Linked DNA regions of Homo sapiens: region 2 is linked to region 1. Evidence: promoter capture Hi-C in human tissues and cell types (Jung and others, 2019). All regions are on one chromosome and are shown on one strand. The core of a region is centred on a gene start or on the middle of the fragment in contact, and the rest is flanking DNA. Distances in the headings are between cores, read along the strand shown.

The links. Contacts are between HindIII fragments. The study calls those that stand out against the background at their distance.
Region 2: a contact is called between a fragment that was not itself captured here and the fragment with the promoter of SLC35F1 in region 1, in 1 of the 25 tissues and cell types used here (bladder).

The regions. Positions count from the first base shown.
Region 1 is chr6:117,903,159-117,909,531 of GRCh38, reverse strand. SLC35F1 (solute carrier family 35 member F1) reads right to left here and starts at 2,268. Exons shown (of 8, transcript NM_001029858.4): 1 at 1,633-2,268. The coding sequence starts at 1,805. It overlaps LOC124901480 (a long non-coding RNA gene), which reads left to right and starts at 2,602. Exons shown (of 2, transcript XR_007059904.1): 1 at 2,602-3,256; 2 at 3,715-3,873. The HindIII fragment of the contact is 14,555 bases long and covers 1-6,275 here.
Region 2 is chr6:117,940,940-117,947,312 of GRCh38, reverse strand. All of the region lies in intron 1 of SLC35F1 (solute carrier family 35 member F1), which reads right to left. Among named protein-coding and RNA genes, the nearest start is that of SLC35F1, 37 kb to the right of the region's middle. The HindIII fragment of the contact is 4,517 bases long and covers 1-4,513 here.

The DNA.
Region 1 (6,373 bases), core at 1,019-3,518:
ATGACAACATACCCCTCACTCCTACCTCAGTGATCTTGTTTTTCTGGGCTCTATGATTCATTACATATCAAGAAATAACCTACATGGAATCAGTAATAACTTATAATTGAGCAAAAAGAAACTGAGCAAAATATTACATCAATATTTTCTAGTTTGATGAGAAATAATAATAATTAAAATATATTGTGATTAAAAATTTAAACAGCCAATGACAAGGTAATTGCAATTGAAAAAAAAACTCACAGGTATTCATAAAAAATACAAAACCCACATAATATGTACTGAGCCAGCGTCTTCTTGCTTTATTCTACTTTATCTTTTGGAAGGTGGTATTCTCAGCTACAAATCAAAGACTTAGTTCTATTACCAACTCCTGTCTCCCGTCAGAGTGAATTTCTTTCTGTTTGATAATAAATGGAAAGCTACAGAAGTACCCGCAAATAAACTAACGCACGCATTAATTCCCCACCAGGGATTCTTGAATGGTTCGGGATTTGATATAACTAAATTAAACTATACTCCCAAAATAAGGATATTTCTCAAGATTCTATTTCTGTACATAGTTTGTACTCCCACCAGAGCTTTGAGCCCCAGACAGTTCCGTGTGAATTCGTTGGGAATCTCTGCTACCCAACACAATGCCACACAGAAACCTGTATGAACAGAGCGACTGGAACAGTTACCCCTACAGATGCATCGAAAGGCACCCACGCATCCAAACAAAAAAGAACACAAAACCCATTCCCTATACAATTTTTTAAGGTGTCAGCTCGTCAACCATTTCAAGTTACTTAAGTAGAAAAAGTCCCTTTCACATCACAGTTGAGTCAGAGGTGCCAGAGGTACCCCCATTTTCACGTCAACCCAGGTCCTCATCCTAAAACGTCAACGTCCTGAATCCACTACGCAGATTCCAGCACTGGAGGCGCCGGCGATCGGCACCCGCCCCCTCCGGCATGGGCGCTTCGGAATAACTGGGCGCCGCCGGCTCACACCCTGCCCGCAATGTTTTGCACTTTGCTGGGTCTGTTCCAGGCCTCTAGCCCTCTCTTCGCTGCTCCCAGCCAGGAAGAGTCCGAGAGGCGACTGGAGCGTCAGGCTGGAGAAGTGGGTTCCCTCCGCCTGCTAGGCTGTCGCTGCGACCCCATTCCCCCGGCAAGGGGTCGAAGCCCCCGGGCGGGGCGGGGCGGAGGACAGCACGAGGCCCAGGACTTCCACGCCATCTCTGCAGCCCCGCGCCTCCCTCCTCAGCCCTGGCCGGGTCCCCGCGTCCCCCCGACCCCCGATCGCAAAGCCGGGGTGCGAGAGGGAAAGGGAAGTGAGGCGGCACGCGTATGGAGGGTGTGAGTGCGGACACACATACAGGGTGGCTAGGTACGAAAAACCCCGCCTCTCCCCGAACTCCCGCCTCGGACCAGCTGCAGCTCCACCACTCCAGGGCTCCCTGCGCCGGGACAAAGCTGCCGCGGCCTCTCTGCGCCCGCGGAGCGCGTCGTCGCCCGATCTCCTCAGTCTCCTCCGGCCGCAACCCCGTCCCAAAGGACCCGTGGGCCGCCCCAGGGACGGAGGGGACCCGGAGCCGGGCGCCCGCAGCCCCCGCCCCCCGCGCCCTCGCCCGGCGCCGCCGCTCACCTGTTCAGCACTTTGCGGATCCTCTGGCGCACGCCAGCCCGGGAGGAGGCGGACAGGCTCCCGCCGCCGCCGCTGCCCTCGGCCGGCAGGTTCTCGATGGTGGTCACCACATGGTTCGGCGGGGCTGGCGACGGCGGCTGCAGCTGCTGCTGCGGCTGCTCAGGGGGGATCATCGCGGCAGAGGCTGAGGCGCGGCGGCGATCAGAACGCAGCCGGGTGCATCGTGTGCCGGTTCCGGGCCCGGGAACGCGCAGAGGACCCGGCCGGGCGGCCGCGGCCCGGGAGGCGGTGCTGCCTGCGAAGCGGTGAGGCGGGGAGGCACCCGCGGCTACGGCCGCCGCCGCCCAGCCCGCCACTCACTCCTCTCCAGTCCCAGTGCGCGCACCCTCGCGCCCGTGCCGCCGCCGCCGCCGCCCGCCCCGGCTCTTCCCGAGCCGCGTCCCCAAGTCCTGGCCCGCCCCGCGAAGTGGCTGCGAAGGGTGTCGCGCGGGGGCGCGGAGCTGCCGGTCGGTTCCGGGGAAGGAGTCCTGATTTCTCCTTGTTTCCTCGTGCCCGGGTCTCCTCGGGGCGCGCGGCGGCAGTTGTGCTGGCGCCGCCTCAGCCTGTGCCCCGCTCGGTCGGAAAGCTACCGTCTGTGTCTCACGGAGTGAGAGACCGAGGGTGAACCCGGAGAGCCGGGCGGGGGCGCCGGCGGCGGCGGCGGCGGCGGCGGCGGCGGCGGCAGAGCGGGGCGCGGGCGGGGGACCTGCGCGCTCTCCTCTCGCCAGAGGGCGCTGCCGAGGTGCCTTGTTGCCCCCGACCCTCTACTGCCCCGTCCGCAGAGGCCCACGGTCTAGGTTGTGGTGATTGTTTTGGTTTGGGTGTTTTTTAGGGGGATAAGGGGGCTGGGAATAGATCCTCCCTGTGGAGTTGGCGGGGATTCCTCGTTTCTGCCCAAGCGCCGCGGAATCCAGCACCACCGGCCTGGGACAGCGGCAGGACGCCGAGACAGGTGCCGGCCCCGGATTAGAAACCCAAACGGAGAATCCTAGATGTTGCTCCTACTACATTCGCCATAATTGGCCTGGTGGAAATGGGAGAAAAAACTACTTCTCACAAAGAATCAATTCTGGGAACTGGAAAAAGCATATCAGACCAACTCAAAACGTCTCCATTTGAGGCAATGTAGTGCTGTGAAAGGAACGTAGGCAGATTTGAGTTTCAGTGGCACATCTGAAACTTATCCGCAGAGACTCTAAGCAATTAAATTCTGAGACATTCTTCTCTGTGCAGCGAGACTACTCATGTCTTTCTCCCAGGGGAGTTGTAAGACTTAAATGAGGTAAACCACGCAGCAGGGGAGCCTAACAGCTCCTTTAATAGTCCCCCAACTCCAAAAGGGAAAGTCCTGTGTATCTGCCACAGAAATCTTGGACCATATTTCTACCAATGGAAACTGACTCTCTGTCCCGGGCATTCTTATACCAATTGATCCGGATCCCAATTAATAATCGATTCTTGAAAGAGAGATATTTTTCAAATTTTCCTTTATTTAGACTGTTTAGATAGGGATCTTGCCTTGAAAAATGATATGCATTTTAAAAAACTCTTCGCTTCAGTGCAGGGAATTGAGTAAGTTTAACAGGTAAGTTTGTTCACACAAAGGCATGCTGATACCACTACTGAATCCAAATGCTCTGAAACCAGCAAATTAAAAATACCAGTGATAGGATTTGCCACTGAGAGAGGGAATTGGGGAGAAAATAACACTCAAAAAAGGAATGGACTATGTCCTTTCAACAGAGGAGAAAAGGAATATGGAAGGATATAAATAAGATGGGATTCTTTGTTCAGTTAACAAGGTCCAATTCCTTTAACAAAATTCGGAGTCTTTTTTTAATCATCAAAAATATGAGAAAACGGGTATTTGCAAAATCTCTTCAATCTATATTTCAATTCTGTAAAACCTACTTGCTACCTGAAATATCCCTGAGGTTTCTTTCTACAGAAATTAACCCCAATTGGAACATTTTCCCTTTTATAATTAAAATGTCGTCCTGTTCTTTCTCAACAACCTTTCATTCTCTGATTTTTCCACCTCAGATTTGCACAGGACACTCTGAAGAATTATTACAAACAGGACCAAGGCTTGTAGCCTCTTGGGCATTAAAATTCCAATAGTGGCAATAAATTTACCCTTAGTGGACCCACCGAATGTAGCAGACATGAATAAAATGCACTTCAGCTGAACCTGGCAGCAAATCGTGGTAGAAGTCTCTCTATTAAAACAACATTTATGGTAATTTCAGGTGTCTGCCTTGAATAACTGGTTGCTTCAGTGCCCTCTTCCTTCACATTTGGCTTGCCTCCCTTTGAATGTTTTTGGCACATCACGACTCAGTGCTGTGTCTGCACTTCAATGTCTGCATTTGCATCTGGTCATTTCTCTAGAGGGACTACTAAATCCAAATGCTCTACATCTCCTCTGAGTCAGGAAGGGAGAAAACCAAGATGAAAGAACAACAAGATGAGAGATGTAAAATTTCGATCTTGTTGGTAAGACCTCAATGCAGACTCAAGCCTTATGCTTTTGTTACTCCATTTCTGGGGGAATACAGCATCAGATCCCTTCTTATCCTCTGATTCTGTACTCCATGCTCATTTCTTAGAAAGTAGCTAACCGCCAAGTGTGTTGGTGTGTGCCTGTAGTCCCAGCTACTCTTAATGCTAAGACAGGAGGATGGCTTGAGCCCAGGAGGTAGAGGCCAGCTTGGGCAACATAGCAAGACACCATCTCTAAAAGAAAAAAATATTTAAGTAGCTAGATAACATTTGTGAAGTAAGTAAACAGGAGTCAAATGTCCAAGTGTCATAATGGTGTGTCTGACATGAAATTAAACATAAAAGATGTAGAAAAGGGCTGCTTCCCTTTTTCCTGCTGCAAGACTTTTGTCCATCCCTGACCTCAAAATCAGTTCACGAGCTCTGACCAAAAGGAAGGGAGATGAAGGCAATGGGCTAAGGATCTGTATGTAGTTTTCAGTGGTGGCATGTGGGTTCCAGGGACATGCCTACTTCTCAGTTTACCTCCTCTTTGTCAGCTGTGGTTAGTGGTATGATGCTATTGCAGAATTTCCATGCCACAAAAAATTCTGCCTCTCTTACCATTATATCACCCGAATTTCTCTTCAGGCACAGACTAGTTCTGTTGAATTCCTTAAGGAAGCAGAAGTTGGCTATCAGCTATACCTTCTTTAGTGTTTCTCATTTTGAAGACATGTCCACTGATGTGGGGAAGAGTGAAGTTTGGCCTATGTCAGAGTCACCAGGCACTGACTAATCTGTTTAGCATAGACTGCACCTGTGCACGTTATTGAGAAAAAAGCTTCACAGTCATGCACCAGAGGTAACTGATGATCCTCCCCAAATTGCTGAACAACTATCTGGAATTGCTTGTGCTGCTGCAAATGACCAGTGGCCATATGCTTTCCCCGTATCATTCTTTTAATCTTTTTCTTTATCTCCTAAGTCAGATTGAATCTTCTCAACATGTAGTACTGAATCTATGGCCTCCAGAATGATAGAGCTTTGTGGTTTTGATTCACATAATAGAACTTGAATGGGAGAGAAAGCCAGGCAAAACTGGTGAAAAATTTGTGGAGAGGGGAAATGGCAGAGGAGTAGAATGGGTAAATCAATTTACATCCAAGAAATGGATACAATAATTGGCATGTTAAAGCACAGAACTTCAGTGAACAATCATCATCAATGAAGATAGTCTATAAATGGTATTAGTGGATATGAAAATATGCACAGAGCAGGGAAACAGACACTAGGCAACAGATATCAAAGACTGTTCACACATTCTACACGATGTTTCTGTTTATGTAATTTTTTTGTTTTGCATTTTGGAAACTTATTCCTTTGGAGTAAACCCAGAATACTGTGTAGGTTTATAATTGACCTTTTTGCTAAGAGAGATGGAGGATTAGAGATTAGTGCTGTTAGTTGTGGATAAGGGCTAATTTTGCAGAGTCAGACTACATTTTGATGAGTTTAAAATTTCTAAGTATTATTTGCAGAGTATTCCATGTCCAAAAGCCTGGTTTGGTATGTCTTTGTCATGGTGACATGGTAAGTCTCTGTTGACAGGAAGTTTGCCACATTCAGTGAAGGAATTATTCAGTAGTATCAATTTCCTCTAAATGAGTAGGATTATCTTAATATCCTAAGATATTAGGAAAAAATTCTATAGATGATGATATCTCAGAAGCGCTTACTATTTTACATACAATCAGTTATCAAATATCTGAATAAGGGAGAAAGATCCTTATACAAACATCAATTATTTCAGCCAGTGACTTCAATATTCTCTCCTTCTAAATATTTTAATACATAAAAATACTGATGGAAAATTGTGGGTAAAATTGTAATGACTTTTGTGTGGAATTTATACACTGAGTTATTAGGGCTAGGTAGGTGGAACTTGGAGCCCAAGTAATCTCAGTTCCAATTCCAGCTCCATTAACAAACTGGGTTAATTTTAGGCAATTATCTCAGATTTTCTGAGCATAAGTTTCCTAATCTTTAAAAATGGGGATAAGGGCCGGGCGCGGTGGCTCACACCTGTAATCCCAGCACTTTGGGAGGCCGAGGCGGGCGGATCACAAGGTCAGGAGATCGAGACCATCCCGGCTAAAACGGTGAAACCCCGTCTCTACTAAAAATACAAAAAAATTAGCCGGGCGTAGTGGCGGGTGCC
Region 2 (6,373 bases), core at 1,006-3,505, 38 kb before region 1:
TTCCAGCCTTCCTGGGCTCCTGCTATTTTCTGGACATCCAAGACACCTCTGGGCTCAGGCATTTGCATTTCTGGTTCCTTCTGTCTGGGAAGCTCTTCCCCAGATATCTAACTAGCTTGTTCCCTCATGTCCTTCCAGTCTTTACTCAAAAGTCACCTTCTCAACAAGGACTTCCCTGACCATCTCATCTAAAATTTCATTACCCTTTCCATACTTTATATTACCCTTCCAATTCAAATTCTTCTCCTTAGCCATTACCATACCATATATTTTACATACATACCTTATTATTGTCTATCTTCCCCCAAATGGATGTAAGCTCCATGAAAACAGATTTTTGTCTACTTTGTTCACTGTTTTCTCAAAACCTAAAAATGTGCTTGGCACAGAGCAGGCACTCAGTAAACACCTGTTAAATGAATGCATGAACCAGTAAAATTAACAGCTTTCCATGTTGAAAATGGACTGCTTTTTGAAAATAAAAACAAATGACAGTGTTCCATAACTTCTAAAAACGTCTGCAATAGTTAAAATTCAGTATCAGGTGGGGTGGCCTAAATAATCTTAGTGTGCAAAAAGGTCAATGTTTTTCTACAGAAATTCATCCCTTCTTTGGTACTGTATCAAAGTTCACACTTCTTTGGTAATGTAAAAAAGCACAGAGTTTTCAATTAGCCACTAATGGCTTTCCTCTAGGTCAAACCACTTAAGAGTTTACATGTAGGTTGTCATCTCAAAGAGAGATATATTAGATGGTCTCTCAAACTTATGACAGCTTAAAATTGGAAAGTAATAGTGAACTGAAGAACACTGGACTAAATGTCATAGGATCTGAATTCTTACCCAAGCTCCAGCCCTTAGGACCTCTGTGAGCAGATGCATCAATCTCTCAAAACTTCAGCTGACTCTTATTTGAACTAAGAAGCACAAAATCAGCCATTATTTTTTATCTTAGAATTGTTGTGAGAATTATATTTGATTGGCAATTTGCAGATTGCTTTCATAATCAGTTTATTTATATGGATGTCATTGTTATTAAGATAATAATTTTTAAATCCATATTTTTGGGAGTAGGTGCAAACCCATTTAGACTACTCTTCTCCTACTCAAACCTCAACCTTTTCCAAAAAAAAAGTATCTGGAAACAGGTCAGGACTTGGAAGCTAGGTGTGAAGAGAAGGGAGGAAAATGAGTGCCACAGGGAAAACAATCCAGTTCATTTTCCTTTTATTCTTGCACTAAGGTCTGGTCAGGAAAATGGAGCACAAAGAAAGAGAGTTTCTGTTCTTCAGTTCTAAGACAACAACATAAACTGCAATTACTTTCAAAACTCTCTGCAGCTTACGGAAAATGCTCATGATTTTAACAACTCTCATATTCTCTTAGGACCCTGGTCTCTCTCTTTTGATGTTTTGGTCTTAAGATCTTCCGAGACCCATCTCTAAAAGTTCACTCTGGGGGACCATAATATTGAGCAACTTACACTTTTTCCAAAATTAAAAATGGTCCTACAAAGTGAAAGCAAAAGCTTGTTACTATGCAGAAGAAAAGGGTTTCCCTTCAATCCTGCTGTGAAGACACATGGCAACTCCAGGAAGCATGGCATCAGTGGGGAAAAGACAGCAGAGTCTCATTAAACCTGCAATACTGAAAGCATGTCTTTACTTGCAGGTCTAAAAACTAGAGAATCGGGAAAAGAATGCTGCTACTAACTTTTAAGCAGTGATCATTTTAAACTCTTGCAACTCTCTCTAAAATAGTCATCATGAGCACTTAACTTTTATTTTTTCAGAAAAGCTATGAGGAGTATTATATACCCATAATATGAGTTACTCTTCCTAAATAACAATCTACTCATCTGTAAAATGGGATAGTGACTACTGCCCACCTTGCAGGATGGGGATTAAGCCATACAATGCATGTAGCAAGTACTGAATAAATAGTAGTAAATTTGTGACTATATGTGGAAAACAAATAACTTAAGGAAAAACATACCCTTTGCTGCAACAGATCTTTCCAAATAGTGCCAACTTCATCTCTAAGTGACTTAAGAAGAGTCAGTAGTGCAACTCAACTGAGACTGAGCAGCATTAGAGGAGGACTGGGCAATTGCCAGATGACCCACGGATGGGGACAGCACTGGCCCTCGGAGCCCCACAGCTTTTCCAAATGCCCTGCCAAGAGGGATCTTCCTCAGCCATTACCATACCATATATATTTATATATGTAACTTATTATCATCTGTCTTCCCCCAAATGGATGCAAGCTCCATGAATGCAGATTTTTGTCTACTTTGTTCACTGTTGTTTCCCCCAAACCCAAAAATGTGTTTGGCACAGAGCAGGCACTCAGTTAATACCTGTTAAACAAATGCCCTCTGCCCCCTAAGCCTGCTGTACCTTGTCAAAGACAGATCCAGACCATTTGGGAACACAGTAAAAGCACTCAGATTTAGACAACAAAACTGAAACTAAAAGAAGAATGGCTTCATACTGAAATAAGAATCACATCTCAAAAACTGCTTACAAATTACTCCTTAAAACTGGAATCCTGTAAAGTTTAGTTAAATTTCTCTTGTTTATATGCAGGCATTCTCTCTCTAGAACAGATGCATCCATAGGGATGGTAGTAAAGTAAGTTGAAACAAATCAACTAATACGTATCATGTGTTTGCATTTAGAATATATTCTGTGTGTGTGTGTGTGTGTGTGTGTGTGTGTATGTGTATGTGTGTGTTTTGGGAGAGGGGGATCTCAAAAAACAAACTTGAAAGCTTTTCTGAGAAAATAAAAACAAAAATAATAACTAGCATTTCAATACTCAGTATTTTTTCAATATATTTTGAACTTTTAAGCTATTCATAGCATTTTTCAATTGCAGCATGGCTCTGAATTTCTGAGCCTAACAACCAAATTTATACTATGTTTGGCAACAAAGTGGGATATTTTGACCTCACAAGGTTGATCTCTGAGATGATTCTTCCCTTCCCTACACACAGACAGTTTATCTTTTCTTTGCTAATGGTTTTTGAACTGCCAGTGATGTATACAGATAGCATATAGTAAGCAAACTGATAGCAAACAGACACAAGAACAGGACTAAGTTCAATTATAGAAATAATTCTCCATAATTGTTCAAGTTTTATATTTGAATAGCAACCACAAATATAGGACAACAAGAGTATCAAATATAATTACAGAAAATTATCATATCATGGCCACTTATTCTGCTTTTCAAAAATAAATGACAATGAAACCATCAATTTTTAGTGCTTTTTTTCACACTTGCAAAGCTAGACTTCACATTCCCCATGAAAAGATCAGATCTATGGATGGTGAAGAAACATTCTCATGGAAGTGTTGTTGCCAGAGTTCCTGCTGCCATGACTGATACTTACAAAGTTTGAACACTCTTTAATTCATATATGTGTTTATCAGAGCACATAAGAGTAGGCAAAAGAAAAACAACTAAAGCCAGATGTAATGATAAAAAGTGATGTAAAGCTTTAGGAATCTCTTCTAGCTCCAGCAAAATCAATGGTTTTAAACTGAGGTTCAAGAACATTTTCAGACCTACAAATATGGGAAACTTTTATTTGGTTTGGATCTGGCCAGTAGTCCTCATGTTCACTTCAACAATCACATGAAAAGACCTCCTTCATAAAATATTTCAAATAGAGCCAACTCTTTTAGCAAGGATTTAGTAAATTTCCATTGAAAGATAATTTTAATTATTTCTGACCTCCTACTGATGTATTCTTAAAGCCATAAGAACTTTACACAAAATTTCACAATGGTATCAATGTCCATCACTTCAACAAGAGGCATTAAAACAACTGTTCAATTTCTCCTGACATTAAATTTGTTAGTTTTTTTCAATTCAGTGAAAGTTGGAGCAGAAAATGTTAACAGCACATCTGATAACACGTATTTTGCTCATGCAAAGGAGATGATTGTGTCACCTGCCTAAATTCCGACTTATAAGCTAGGGCTTCATTGGAGACCTTAGCAGTTAATATACTAGAAAAATTATAATAACACTTAAATTGATTCAGGAAATGTGTTTTGGTTACCTCCACAGGTCTGGTCAATCAGCAGTAATGAACTACCAAACAATTCGGTTAGAGATACACATGTCACGTTCAAATGGAATTTGAAATAGAGCACTCCTCTGTATTTTAGAAATCCATTAACAGGATCGGCAAGACCCAATCCAAAATGGATCGATAACAAGATCGGTACATTTGACAGGAAAAAATTGTCTCAGAGGCACTTGACTATTGACTGTGTTAGAACTGAAAGAATTGAGATTGGCATGGTATATTGACAAAGGATAAACTGTGAACTAAGAGAAATTGATCATAATTGTCTCAGGGCTTGGGTAAGAAATAAATAAAAACTACAGGCTGTTAATTCATTTCTAAACAAATGCATTACTTGTAACAATAAGTAAGATAAAATAAAGTTCATAATAGCTAAAACGTCAAATGTGATTTTGCTAACAACAATGATAATTACAACACCAATTTTAGAAAACTAGATTTAGTAGAAATAACACAAAATTGGCAGTGGCTAACCACTGATAGAAGAATTAAATCTTCCTCGTAAAATTTCAGTCATGCCAATATTTGACCAAGAAGTCTGGACTTCATGAAACAGCAATTTCAATAACAGAAGCTATAATCGTTAACATTTTAATTCATGCCAGAAAGTTGAATAATATGTTAAATTATTGTTTTAAAAGCTATACAAAATGTAAGCCATCCAATGAAATTAATCCCATTAAACTAAGATGGACATAAAAAGTGAAATTTAGCTGTTCTGTATAGAATGGAGGTTAATTCTAGAAAAGACTAGACTAACCAGTGTTAATTAAGTTTTAAAAATTTAAATTTATGAACAGAAAGTCATGAACATTCTCAGGGTCAAAACATTCTATAACGAAGTGATGTTGATCTCTTGACTACATATTCAAAAAACTCTTCTCCCCCTTTCCTGGATATTTACAATATCTAAGCTCTCAGTGTCTATGTAATTCATATTCTGTAACAACAATAGAATTAGGTCAGAATCCCAGAACAAGAGCATGGGCCTTGGTGTCAGTGAGACTCGAATTCAAGCCCACTCTACCACCAGCTGCATCATCTTAAACAAGTGACTGAGGTTCTGCTGGGTAAGTACCAATGTCTGTAAAAAGATGTGATACTGCAAAGTGTTGTTGAGAGTATTAAATGATAATTTTGATAAAATACATGTCATTGACCTTTCTGACACTTTACTCTCCTCCATGACAATGATGCTTAAGATCTTGAGAAAAAGGTCTTCCTGGCACACAGATGTATTCAAATATAAGGTTACTATTAACCTAATGATGATACAATGAAGAAGAATATCTGCTTAGATAACTCCAGGGTGATCAACAACAACTACTGAGTCATGCTAATTTTATCCAGGTTTTCCATATGTGGATGGGGAATCCCACATCGGGGATTGGGGGAGCAGGACTGTTTTCTTTCGGAAAAGCTTCAAGTAAACAAGAAACACTATTAAATATAAATGGTGTTTAAATATAGGCTCAAATTTTTAGTGATACTTGAACAATTCACCCCATGGAATGAATTTGTTTCTTAACTGAAAACTAATCTATTGCAATATTAGTAACCAAATCAATAATCTCCAAAGGCAAATATAATATTGTATAAAAGAAAAGAATGAAATCCACTGGCTTAAAGGTAAGTAGGCATGTCACAACTAGGTAAGATGTCCCTGACACCTCTATGATTCCTGGTTTACTTGAAGGGTCATTGTTGTAGTATTTGCTATTGGTTTTGCTATTGTTACTGAATGGCTTTGGCTTCATAGTTTCATCAAAGATGTGACCCCTATTCAGTAAGCCTGTCTATCTTGATCATAGAACTGAATAGTAAAGATAGAGCTTTACCATGAATGTACACAATGTGGAAGGACTCATTTCCTTCTAAAAACTTTTAAATACCAGAAACTCTTTCCAATATGTTTTCTCATCTAACCCAAAAAAACTAAAAATAATTGATTCTAAATACAGGTTTTTCTCAAGAGGTACAAGAGCTTTCATTTTGCTTTAAGAAACACTTTCTTTAATATGGAATCTATAAATCAGAAAAATATGTTTAAATTCTTAAACCCAAATGTAAACAGCATAGCCAACATGGGGACACCAAGTCTTAAAATAACGAAGAAGGAGATAAACCATGACCAGGGATCAAATTTGACATGCAGCCTTCAGGTAACAGTGAGCATCATATAAATATAAATGCAAGTTGCCATTTTGTATTTTGAAGAGAAGTTTTCAGATGTGTGAAATAATCTAAAAAACCACATCTTTGGGCCAGGCA